Linked DNA regions of Homo sapiens: region 2 is linked to region 1. Evidence: promoter capture Hi-C in human tissues and cell types (Jung and others, 2019). All regions are on one chromosome and are shown on one strand. Each heading gives the region's core, a stretch centred on a gene start or on the middle of the fragment in contact. The rest is flanking DNA. Distances are from core to core; before and after follow the strand shown.

Region 1 (3,031 bases), core at 425-2,924:
ACTGGCAGCTGTGCAGGGAGAGACTAATGGCCCGGAAGGAAGGAGGGGCCTGGAAAGGAGACGAAGGCGGTAGGGACGTGAGCAGGGCGTTGGCCCTGGCCCATCTCACAGGACGCACAAAGGGGGGAGGGGGCTGCTGCCCTGCAATACTGAGGAGCTGGCCAGCCAGGGAGCCGCCCTCCTTACCCCCAGCCAGATATCCAGGCAGGAACCTGAAACCTGCTTCCCCAGATGCACTCTCTTGTCCTCAGGTCCCATCTGAGGCAGACCTGTCTCACAGGACAGCGCTGGAGTCCCCAGCAGCAGCAGCAGCCCCAGCCCTATGGTTCCTGGCAAACCCAGCAGACCTCAGCAACCCGGCTCCTGCAGACCATCCGAGCTGCCTCTGTCCACTCCTGGGCAGGTTGTGCTTGCATTCTGGAAGCTGTTTGACATACAAAGGCCAGATATCAGCCTTCTCGCTAACTCTGGAGTAGGGGAGGGTGTGGTGGGATGTGTGATTGTGTGTGTATGTGTGTGTATGTAGTGTGTGTGCGCATAGATATACAAAGCTGTGTGTATGCATCTGTTTGCGTGCGCAGGTTTGTGGACCTGTTCTGGGGCCTTCTCTCTTTCAGACTGCTGGGGATGGGCACTTTCTCTTTCCCCATCTCTTCCCCATCCAGCCCCACCCATCCCTGGTACCTGCAACTCATCAATACTGGAAACCAGCTCCTGCCAGTCCATCCATCTCTCAGCCTTGGCAGCCGCTGTTGCCCCTCAGCCCCCTCCCCTTCCTACCTCAGGAATCACTCTGGTTCCTGTAAAGCCCATGACTGAGCAGCAATTGGTGTGGGGTTGGGGGGAGGGAGAATCCAGTAAACCAAGACAGAATACAAAAGGCCCACTTAGCCCAGCCCGTGGCATGGGGCAGACCCTCCCGAGTGGGATCCAGAGCTGGGTCCAGCCACCCTCAGCCCCCTATGATGTACCCACCTCATTGGGGCTTGTTGCGGGGTAGGTCTAGGTTTGGGGGCTGTGTCTTTAAGGCTGAAACATCAGCAGACAACCTCTGCTGGGCCGTCTTCAGGGGAGGGGGAGGGGGGCTGGTCAGCCCATTAGCAGCAGAGCTGGCGCCAGGCACCAGCCCTTCACAGGGCCCTGGGGATTAGGGAGAGTAGCTCTTCCCCAGCCCGATCTGCCTCTGCGCCCCTGTCTCCTATTCCTCTCTGGGTGTGGTGAAGGAGGGGTAGCTGACAGCAGGTGAAAATAGAGCCTGGCCTTCAGGGGGCAAGTCAAGGCACTAGCTATGGGGCCTAAGCCAGGTCAACTCTCCCTCCAGCTGGCCTCCTCCCTACTCCTGTGCCAGAAGCCTGCCCTTTAACTTCAGGTCCTTCTACCTCGCAATTTTCAGGGACTCTAGTTCAAGTCAGGCCTTCCTACCCTAGGTTCTAGCTTTGGGTGCTTGTTGGGAGGAAGTGACCCCCACCCCAGCGGCAACAGGGGGCAATCAAGTGGGTAGAGGCCTGCAACCAGGGAAGGGAGGGGAAGGCGCTCCTGCTGTTCCGCAGGGGTGGGGCATCCCCCTCCCCATACAACCCCCCTCCAGCGGGCCATCAGGCCAGTGGGAGGAGCTGCCCGTGCCCCCCCTGAGACCGCAGGGCTATAAAGCCGCCTCGCAGCGGTCTGCGGCTCCTTCCCAGCCCCCGGCCTAGCTCTGCGAACGGTGACTGCCCATCCTTGGCCGCAATGAGCCACCACCCGTCGGGCCTCCGGGCCGGCTTCAGCTCCACCTCATACCGCCGTACCTTCGGTCCACCGCCCTCACTATCCCCCGGGGCCTTCTCCTACTCGTCCAGCTCCCGCTTCTCCAGCAGCCGCCTGCTGGGCTCCGCGTCCCCGAGCTCCTCGGTGCGCCTGGGCAGCTTCCGTAGCCCCCGAGCGGGAGCGGGCGCCCTCCTGCGCCTGCCCTCGGAGCGCCTCGACTTCTCCATGGCCGAGGCCCTCAACCAGGAGTTCCTGGCCACGCGCAGCAACGAGAAGCAGGAGCTGCAGGAGCTCAACGACCGCTTCGCCAACTTCATCGAGAAGGTACGCTTTCTGGAGCAGCAGAACGCGGCCCTGCGCGGGGAGCTGAGCCAAGCCCGGGGCCAGGAGCCGGCGCGCGCCGACCAGCTGTGCCAGCAGGAGCTGCGCGAGCTGCGGCGAGAGCTGGAGCTGTTGGGCCGCGAGCGTGACCGGGTGCAGGTGGAGCGCGACGGGCTGGCGGAGGACCTGGCGGCGCTCAAGCAGAGGTCAGGGGGCAGGGCTGGGCCGCTGCCGTCGAGGCGAGGTCGAAGCGGCCGTCGAGGCGGCTGCTCTTGCCTCCCCTCGCTTCCCCTCTCCATCAGCAGCCCAAGGGTGTGGCTCCCCTTACCAACCCAGGTGTGTGCGGGCAGCATCCCTGCCCACGGGCTCCAAGTGCCCCCCGCTACCCCTTTGCTCTGAGTGTTTGGGGAGGTGGGAGAAGTGGGTATCTGTGCCTCCCCTGAGTAATGAGGAAACCCCCTTTTCAGCTCCCAGTCCGTTAGAGACAATGCGGGGCAATTCCATTAGACAGCCTCAGCCCTCCATTTAGAGTCCTGGGCAGCAGAACAGCCTCTAACCGGATCCTGGGGGGCGTGCGGTCTGGGGTGCGAGCTGGGCGGCGACCCCGCAGTTCAGCCTCTGCACGCTCTTCCCGTCAGGTTGGAGGAGGAGACGCGCAAGCGGGAGGACGCGGAGCACAACCTCGTGCTCTTCCGCAAGGTGAGTCCGAGCCCCTCTCCGAGTTCAGCCTCCCCACCGCTACCCCCGATCTCAGTATCCAGAGGTGGCATCGGTGGGCGCGGGGAGAAGGGGGTAACCCAGATGCCTCCTGAGGCAGACAGGGAAGGCCTGGTCCTTCCTTGGTCTGCGCAGCCCCTAACTTATCTTGAACCTCCACTGCCACCCCTCGAAGGACGTGGACGATGCCACTCTGTCCCGCCTGGAACTAGAGCGCAAGATTGAGTCTCTGATGGATGAGATTGAG
Region 2 (3,031 bases), core at 251-2,750, 110 kb after region 1:
TTGATGTACTACTAGAAAAGAGAAATAAGCCCAAGATGGATAGTCTATTAGGGGCCACGCATAAAGCTGGGAAACTACATGAGAATGGAAATGAGAAGTAAACCCACCATACAGAAAGGCATAGCAAGGCATCTTGTGTCTCAACTTTGATGGTGTGTAGGAGGGCTAAAAACTTTCATGGGAATTTAAACTGGTTCTAGGTCTGAATTCACACTCCCTATGTGGTACAACAAAATTTAAACAGAGATTCTAATTAAAAGTTGTTTCGGATTGGTAGTGCCCCAGGTGCTTGAAAGAAACAAATAGCAATTATAAGATGTCATTAATTGTGCCTGGTTTTCAGAGATGTTAAAATATGAAAAAAATGGCCAGGCGCGGTGGCTCATGCCTGTAATCCCAGCACTTTGGGAGGCCAAGGCAGGCGGATCACGAGGTCAGGAGATCAGGACCATCCTGGCTAATGTGTTGAAACCCCATCTCTACTAAAAATACAAAAAATTAGCCAGGCGTGGTGGCAGGTGCCTTAGTCCCAGCTACTCGGGAGGCTGAGGCAGGAGAATGGCGTGAACCCGGGAGGCGGAGCTTGCAGTGAGCAGCGATCACGCCACTGCACTCCAGCCTGGGCGACAGAGCGAGACTCCGTCTCAAAAAAAAGAAAAAAATATGGTACCATGTACCAGGCACTGTTAGAGTTACAGCTGTGAACAAAACAGACCTCTCTGTCTTCCTTGAGTTTATATTCTGGGGAGGGGAATGTTTTGACAAAGTAAGAATATACATGGTATACTAGATGTTGCAGATATCTAAGTAAGATGACTAAAAATTGACCATCAGATTTAGTAATTTGGAATTTCTTGCTGATCTTGATGGGAGAGGCTTTGGTAGGGTAATCAGGAAGCAAAAGCCTCTTGGGGTGATTTTGAATGGGAGGAAAGGAATTGGAGACAGTTACAGCTTCTTGGAGTGTTGCTGTGAAGGAGAGCAGAGAAATGGATAAGTAGCTGGTGAGGAAACTGGGGTTATGGCTTATCTTTTTCAGTGAGATAACTGAGAGTATGTTTCTACAGTGCTGATGAGGATGCACCAGTAGAGAGGGAAATATTGCTGATGCAGGAGGGAGAAAGGGGAATGACTAGGCAATAGGGTTTGGAGTCTGGTGTTCAAGTGGAGGAGTTGGCTGTAGATAGGAGCAGTCAGTTCATCTACAGTGCATAACAGGAGAGAGGACAGGGCAAATGGTGGTAGTGATTGCCTTCTCTTTCACTGAGGAAGTGGAAGGGCAGCAACTAGGAGTAAGCATGGACGAGGAAATGTTCATTGATAGCTTGAGGAAAGAGAAAATGGCATAAAATGTACCAAATAGAGGAGTGGGAGAATGAATGGATGAGGCAAAAGTTTTGATTGTCATGCTGAGCTAAGAGACCATTTGAAGTTAGCTGTTGTGAATTTTATGTGAGAACTGTTTAGTATGAATGTTTTATTTTTATTATTTCATTTTAATTTTGAGACAGGATCTTACTCCGTCAGCCAGGCTTGAGTGCCGTGGTGCATAGCTCACTGCATCCTTCAACCTCCCAGGCTCAAGTGATTCTCCCACCTCAGCCTCCCAAGTAGCTGGGACCACAGGCATGTGCCACAACGCCTGACTAATTTTTTTGATTTTTTTTTGTAGAGACAAAGTCTTACTATGTTGCCCAGGCTGGTCTCAACCTCCTGGGATAAGCTGTCCTCCTGTCTCACCCTCCCAAGTAGCTGGAACTATAGCCAAGTACCACCATGCCTGGCTAATTTTAAAATTTTTTGTAGAGACAAGGTCTCCCTATGTTGACCAGGCTGGTCTCAAACTCCTGGGCTCATATGATCCTTCTGCCTCTGCCTCCCAAAGTGCTGGGATTACAGGCATGAGCCACTGCATCTGGCTCTTTTTTTCCTTTTTAAAGCCACATTTAGCTGCATGGTGCAGGCATAGAGTAGATGGACAGCTGCATTTTTTTTAAACATGTTATTCAGGAAAATTTTAAACATACAAAAGTAAATAGAGCCCTCATGTACTCATCACCCAGTTTCAACAAATATTTACTCACTGCTAATCTTGTTTTATTTGTACCCTCAACCATTTCTACTTTTCCATATTATTTTGAAGCAATCCCAAACATCATATTTTGTGCTTAAATATTTCATGTTTCTCTAAAAGATATGAACTCTTACCAAAAAGTACCATTACCATACTAAAAGATTTAACAATTCCTTGATATCAAATATCCTGTCAGTTTCTTTTTCTTTTCTTTTTTAGTTTTTGTTTTATTTTAAAATTTAATTTATTTTTGAGACAGGGTCTCACTCTGTCGCCCCGACTGGAGTGCAGTGGCACGATCTCAGCTCACTGCAACCTCCGCCTCCCAGACTCAAGCGATTCTTCTGCCTCAGCCTCCTGAGTAGCTGGGATTACAGCCATGTAGCACACTGCCCAACTAATTTTTGTATTTTTAGTAGAGACAGGGTTTCGCCATGTTGGCCAGGCTGGTCTTGAACTCCTGACCTCAAATGATCCACCTGCCTGGCCTAGTTTTTGTTTTATTGATTGATTGATTGGTTGATTGATTGTCTGACAGGGTCTCGCTCTGTCGCCCAGGCTGGAGTGCAGTGGTGCAAACACGGCTCATCGCAGCCTTGACCTCTTGGGCTCAGTTGATCCTTCTTCCTCAGCCTCCCAAGTAGCTGGGAGTATAGGCATGCACCACCATGCCCAGCTGTTAGTTTTCTAATTTCCAGTTGCCTCCCGAATGTCCTAAATGTTTTTGTTTTTCTTAACAGGGGTTGTATTTAATCAGGGTTGGTGTTTTGCCAGGCAGGTATGATGAAATGAGAGTGGAAGTCAAGAGACTTGAGGTGTATGCAAGGGAATGATTATAATGATGGACCTTGAACTTGAAGCTGAGGAGGAAAATGAGGATGTAAGAGGGGAATGGGATCAATGGCTTATAAATCCTGGTGGGGTCAAAGGATTTTTAGAGTTAGGGTGCTAGATGGA

The links. Contacts are between HindIII fragments. The study calls those that stand out against the background at their distance.
Region 2: a contact is called between a fragment that was not itself captured here and the fragment with the promoter of PRPH in region 1, in 3 of the 25 tissues and cell types used here (IMR-90 fibroblasts, lymphoblastoid cells and mesenchymal stem cells).

Annotation. Positions count from the first base shown.
Region 1 is chr12:49,293,473-49,296,503 of GRCh38, forward strand. It overlaps PRPH (peripherin), which reads left to right and starts at 1,675. Exons shown (of 9, transcript NM_006262.4): 1 at 1,675-2,273; 2 at 2,706-2,766; 3 at 2,960-3,031. The coding sequence starts at 1,729. TROAP-AS1 (TROAP and PRPH antisense RNA 1) reads right to left here. Exons shown (of 8, transcript NR_120449.1): 6 at 1,788-3,031; 7 at 976-1,063; 8 at 1-424. RefSeq lists enhancers at 1-693, 773-1,690, 1,691-2,607. The HindIII fragment of the contact is 28,443 bases long and covers 1-3,031 here.
Region 2 is chr12:49,399,390-49,402,420 of GRCh38, forward strand. All of the region lies in intron 2 of SPATS2 (spermatogenesis associated serine rich 2), which reads left to right. Among named protein-coding and RNA genes, the nearest start is that of SPATS2, 33 kb to the left of the region's middle. The HindIII fragment of the contact is 8,029 bases long and covers 1-3,031 here.